Linked DNA regions of Homo sapiens: region 2 is linked to region 1. Evidence: promoter capture Hi-C in human tissues and cell types (Jung and others, 2019). All regions are on one chromosome and are shown on one strand. The core of a region is centred on a gene start or on the middle of the fragment in contact, and the rest is flanking DNA. Distances in the headings are between cores, read along the strand shown. Region 1 holds the start of YPEL2 (yippee like 2). Region 2 overlaps YPEL2 (yippee like 2).

What was found. Contacts are between HindIII fragments. The study calls those that stand out against the background at their distance.
Region 2: a contact is called between a fragment that was not itself captured here and the fragment with the promoter of YPEL2 in region 1, in 2 of the 25 tissues and cell types used here (lymphoblastoid cells and spleen).

What each region holds. Positions count from the first base shown.
Region 1 is chr17:59,330,377-59,333,446 of GRCh38, forward strand. YPEL2 (yippee like 2) reads left to right here and starts at 1,279. Exons shown (of 5, transcript NM_001005404.4): 1 at 1,279-1,448. RefSeq lists a silencer at 1,045-1,564 and an enhancer at 1,775-2,336. The HindIII fragment of the contact is 13,001 bases long and covers 1-2,743 here.
Region 2 is chr17:59,386,094-59,389,183 of GRCh38, forward strand. YPEL2 (yippee like 2) reads left to right here. Exons shown (of 5, transcript NM_001005404.4): 3 at 2,234-2,277. Among named protein-coding and RNA genes, the nearest start is that of MIR4729, 22 kb to the left of the region's middle. The HindIII fragment of the contact is 8,502 bases long and covers 1-3,090 here.

The DNA.
Region 1 (3,070 bases), core at 29-2,528:
AACTGAATACAATTTGGTTGACCAAGCATATTTTAAAAACAGCTGGGTGGAGATGCAGGTGAGCCAGCATTCTGGGTGTACGTGCAAACCAGTGTGTGGAAGGCGGAGAGTCAGCTGCACCTCCTGCAGCACCTCACATCCTGATGGCTGCACAGTAAAACACTAGTTTCCTTGGAGGAAGAGTTCCCAGAGGAACTGCGGAACCCCAGTGTCTTGAGCGAAAGGCAGGACCTGCTTTGTTCACCTTGTCCGTGCCAACATTCTTTATCAAACTGTCCTGTTTTCCTGCTGGGAAACTGCCCCACTCCACCCACCTGGTGCCTCCCTGGTTTCCTGACTGCCACGAGGTTATTTTTTAACCTGCTCTTCCTTGAAAAGCACCACCCCGGTGACCCAGAACGTGGACTCCTCCCCTCTGGTCACTCGGACCATCCCACTCTAATTACCGTCATCTGCCTCTGAAAGTCATGGAAAATTAGCAGCAATGGGGCGGTCTTCAATTCCACTAAGCCCCTTTCGTACTTTTAATTCGCCGAAATTACTAGCAGGGCAGAGAGAAGAGGGGAAATGCCTGGCTTCTGAGCAAGGCATGGGTGGGCTGGGTGCAACTAGCACTATCATTTTCTTTTAATTTTATTATTATTATACTTTAAGTTTTAGGGTACATGTGCACAATGTGCAGGTTTGTTACATATGTATACATGTGCCATGTTGGTGTGCTGCACCCATTAACTCGTCATTTAGCATTAGGTGTATCTCCTAATGCTATCCCTCCCCCCTCCCCCCTATCATTTTAAATTCAATTACCCGGGGCCTGAGGGCCACTTCTGGTAACTTAGGCTATGGCTTAGGGCGAGGTTTAAAACGTAAGAAAGGAATGACTATCTTGAGCCTCCAGGGAGATGCACTGCAAATCCCCCCGCCCCAAAATACAACCCAGGTTCTGGGAATCCCAGCCCTGCCCTGGGGACAAACCCCAAACTCAAATAAACGGCCTCCTCCTAGGCGCTGAGAGCCCACCCAGCTTTGGCACTCTGGGTCCCTGCCCTCCGGCAAGTTGCCGGGACGGGCGGGACCCTAACCAGCCGCTCTCCCCTAGCCCAGGCTGGGCCGGGCCGAGGGGTGGGGGAGTGGGCGGTCGGGGAAGCGGGGGGCGGAGTTCCGTCCTCTGATGATTGGCTCTGCGCGGATGGGCTGCGGCTGCGCCCGGCCAACCCGCGGCGTGTTGCTATGTGCTGAGCCGAGGGGATAGGTGCGGGGGCGCGTCCATCACGGGGTAGCCCCCGGCCCGGACCCGGAGGGATGCGGAGTGGCGGCCGCGGCGGTGGCGGAGACTGTGGCTTTAAGAGCGTGCCGGGAGCCCGAGCCCCAGCCGGGCCGCGCTTCGCCGCTGCGCACCCCAGCGGAGCCAAGCCCCACGCTGGCCGGACAGGGCCGCCTGTCGCCGGGTAAGTGCACCGGAGTGCGGCGCGGGCCGGGCGCGCGTGGGCGTGGGGCGCGCTGTCAGCTCGGGCTCTGGGTCCCCGGCCCCGGCCTCCGGACTCCCCCGGCCGGGCCTGCGCGGGGTTGGGGGTGCGGCGCCCTCGGTTCCGCGTGGGGTCCCCGTGGGCGCCGGGGACGGGGAGCGGCCGCCGGGCCACGTGACCGGTTTGTTTACAAACACTGCCGGGCCCGCGGCCGCTCGCGGAGGGAGCCCAAGGGCGCGGGACCCCCGGCCGGGGCGGGAGACGCGCGCCAGGGGCTGGGCGAGTCTGCGGGGCCAGGTTTGGGGCGGGGGTGCGGAGCTGGAATCGCCGCTTCCTCCTCCGCGTCGTCCCCATGGGTTCGGACTCCATGGGGTCCGGGTGGGGCTGGGGACGCCCTCCGTCCTCTCGTGACGCCGCGTTTCCCTCGGAGAGTCCTGGGGACACTTAGGTCCAGGGGCGCCGCCCTGGGGGCCTTCCACTGTGGGACTGGGCGCCCTCGAAATTTCTCGGAGCGCGTCGTCTGCCCCGACCCGGGTCGAGGTAACCGCAGCCGAGTTCCTCCCTGGCCGCGTCTCGGCGCCTCCCCGGTGTCCTTGCCAAGGGGGTGGGCGCGAGGTCCTGCCCGACGGAACGCGGGAGCCTCTGCCGCGAGCGCCTCCCCGGAGCTGGCGCTTAGGGGCGGCCCCGACCTTTCGCCACTTCCAGTTCACCCTGCTTGGCCGCCGACCTCCTCTGGTGTCTTTCCCGGAGTGGTGGGCTTTTCTCCGGTCTTGGGGGCGTGCGGGGGTGGGGGACACCTGTTCTTCTGGACTTCTTGTCCGGAAGATTGCTACCTCTGCCTTCAGTCTTAGCTGCGAGAGTTTAAAAAGCCAGGTGAGCGAGTGTCTTGTTTTCCTCCGCTTGGAGCGGAGCTGCACCCTCGCCCGCCCCCCAGTCCCGCCGCTGTGAAAGGCCCCAGAGAACTGCTCCGAAGCTTTGCTGGGGTTTTTGCTTTCTGGCCTCCTTGCTGATTTGCTGTCCTTGCAACTTGGGAGGCTCTTGAGTGAGTCCTTGCCTTTGGTGAATCTGAAGGCTAACGAGACAGCTGTCTTTTCCTCCCTGCCCTTCCTTCCTTGTTCTTCCTTGTTCCAAAGCATTGGGCAAGAAGGGTAGCGGTCAGCTTCCCTGTGCCTCACAGAGCATTAAAGATGCAAGAAGTTCAGTAAACCGCCTCACTGGCTCTGGGGTGGGACTTGATTTCACATGGTTATTGCTCCCCCGTGCTTTCCTGCCTCTGGGGGCCACAGGGCCTATGAATGGCTGAGTCTTGCCTCCGGTGAGGAACATTTTCATTCTTCTAAACTGTGTTTTGAGTGGCTGCAAGTTCTTTTCCCCAGAAACAGGCCCAGCCTGGGGAGAGCTGTGCAGACTTCCCCCTTGGCACCATCCCCTGTCCCCAGCTCCATGATAGGATCTCAGGCAGGAGTGCAGTGGGAGCCTCATCCGCTTCCTCAGTTGGGCTTTGCCGCCGCAGGTTAGCATTCAATGACAGCATTTCTTGGATCTGTCTTGATATTTCTGTGCTTGAACCAAAATCAAGAAGCTTAGAGTTAGGGGTGGAAAAT
Region 2 (3,090 bases), core at 492-2,991, 56 kb after region 1:
AGGCGGATTGTTTAAGCCTAGGAGTTCAAGACCAGCCTGGGCAACATGGCAAGACCCTGTCTCTATAAATTTTTTTTTTTTTAAATAGCTGGTTATGGTGGTATGCACCTGTGGTCCCAGTTACTCTGGAGGCTCAGGCAGGAGGATCGCTTGAGCCCAGAAGGTGGAGGCTACAGTGAGTCATGGTCACACCACTGCACTCCAGCCTGGGTGACAGAGTGGGACTCTCTTGGGGGAAAAAAAAAAGGAAAGAAAGAAAAAGGAAATGCAGGGAACATGAAGAGTCTAGAACATGAGTATCATTGGGTGCCTTTTTCTGGGGAGTTTAGGGAAAGCTTAATGAAAGAGGGGAGCTGAGCTGAGGCTTATTGGGTCAGGTGGAAGAGCCTCCCCATCAGAGGGAACTTCATGGGCAAAGTTAGTGCAATGCAACTTCCAGGAATTGCCTGTGGTTTGGCCTGACTGGAGTGAAGGACATAATGGGGAGGTAGCAAGAGAAGAGGCAGGAGAGGTGGCATGGCCAGGTCATGAAGCCCTGGAGTGGTGTTTGTGCTCCAGGATTGAACAGTGTGGCCAGGTCTAGACCTGTGTCGCTGGGACATTGTCTTATCCAAACACTCAGCATGGACTTCCAGGTTCCAGGTTTTGAGGCTTTGACACTCATAGCTGCTCAGTTGTAGCCTGGAAGCTGCTATATTCCCCAGGGATGTTTCAAGACCCCAAAAAGGAGAGAATTGGTTTGGGTCTGGGCACCAGCTGGGGAATATCTGCCTGCCCCTTGCAGATGCACCTGGGAGTGAAGGTGTCTGGTGTATTTGAATGTTGGAGGCAACCAACAATCCAGCTGCCCCAGAGGCAGTTTTTCCACAAGTAAAGAAGTTTGTTGGCTGGGTGTGGTGGCTCACACCTGTAATCCCAGTACTTTGGGAGGCCGAGGCGGGTGGATCACCAAGGTCAGGAGTTGAAGACCAGTCTGGCCAACATGGTGAAACCCTGTCTCTACTAAAAATACAAAAATTAGCCGGGTGTTGTGGTGCACACCTGTGGTCCCAGCTACTCAGGAGGCGGAGGCAGGACACTCGCTTGAACTCAGGAGATGGAGGTGCAGTGAGCCAAGATCGCGCAACTGCACTCTGGTCTGGATGACAGAGCAAGACTCCATCTAAAAAAAAAAAAAAAAAAAAAAAGAATTTTGTCTTTCACACTGGCTGGCAGCACTGATCCCTGACGTCCTGCACATCTGACAAAAATGATTGTCTCGCGTGCTGATCTGAGTCCTATCTGGTGCTCACCTACCCTCTGGTCATCTGTTAGCCACTCATCTCCTTGTTTGTTGGTTGGTTTTCAGAGCAGACTAAGATACTAAATTCAGGACACTGTTGTTAGACCACATTAAAAATGCAGGCGGCAGTGCAGAACATGGCTGGCTCATGTCAGGCCGACTTCTCAGTGTAACCAGAGAAGGAAAACATGGACAGGGCCCGTGTTAATGGAAGCAGACGCCAGATTGCATGGCAGGCTCTGGCTCCTGTTTCTCCTGTTCCCTGCCGCCCTCCAGCCAAAAGAAAGAAACTAATATGTAAGCTAGAGGTTAAAGTGGAATTGCTGCTTCATGAGCATTTCTGTGATGCAGAGATCAAGTTGCTTACATCTCAAAAGAGCTCCTGTGCTCCCATTTAGGATTGTAAACTGTCATGGCACTTAGGATCTTCTAGAAGGCATGACAAGCGATAAGTGTGGGTTGGATAGTTTTTTCTTGGGTCAGGGATTTTTTTGCTGCCTTTGGTAGAGCTGGACCAAGAGGCCAAGCGAAGGAGCTTGTGGTGGTTTCCATGCCTGGGCCAGCCTGGGAAAGCTGTGGCCAGCACAGATGGCTGAAATCAGGTGGGACCAGGAAACGCCAATGCGGATTAATGATCTCAGGTGAATTAATTACATCAGGCAATGTCAGGAGGGAAGAAGTTTTTAATGACATAGTGGTTTTGGGTTTTTTTCATTTTCTCACCTGGGCTAGTGAAAACAGTCCGGTGGGCCAGATCGAGCTTTGTGGCTCTGTTAATTCCGCCCTCTTCTCCGCCCCCACACCATCTGCCAGCGGGACCGTTAACTGGCTCAGTACTCCCTTTTGCTGTGTCAGTCCTGGAAGGTCATGCTTAACTGTGATTGGGGTTGGTTTCCCAAACAGATAGGTGAAATGGATGTCTAACTATCGATTTGTTTTCTTGCATTTCAGTCATTCCAAGGAAGTCAAGGACGAGCATACCTCTTTAACTCAGTGTGAGTGCCTCTGAATGGTACATTCCTTGTGGGGTACAGATTCGAGGGATGGGAAAAAGCAATCCTTGGTGATAATTAAACAATGAACCCTGCCCTGTCTGCCACAGTAAAACTCTGTGGAGCATTACTGTCCACAATTGGTAGTCAGTTACCTTTGGGGAACATTTCTTGCCAACATCTCTGGCTAAAAATAATATATTCACTACATTCCCCTCAGAGGGCACACCAGAGGACTGTAGTCCCACAGGGAAGAAGCTGAGGAGATTCTGAGAGCCTCAACCTGAAGGGCTCATAATGAGATCTGAGATTTGTCACTGGGGAAGAGAATATGGGTGAAAAAGACACCAAGATCTGCTGCGGGACCTAAGGAGGAAGGAAGGCCCACTTCGGGCAGATGCACAGTTTCCAGGGCACTCAGCCATCCCCAGGCACCAGGTTTATCACCTCTTCCCTGGGAAGGGAAGGTGAAGCCTACATAAGCCTGATAAACTGTAAAAATGAAAATCTGGCCTGTGGCTTGAGCTGGGCACCCTGTGAAGGAGTAGAGCCTATTCAGCACCCAGGGATCACTCATTCCTGTATCAGGACCACACTGTGCTATCATGTGTGGCATCTTCAGCTTCATTCAGTCCTCAGTAAGCTGTGAGGACCTGTGCCCATGGCTGTGGACTTCACAGTGTGGCTGTCAGCTTGTCCCCCTAAGTCACAGATTTAAAGTATTTGTTAGAAAAATTAAAATTTTAAGCAAACTCTCAACCATAAAGATTATTTCGGTAGACCCACTCCACTAGAACTTGCAGATCTGAATTTCCT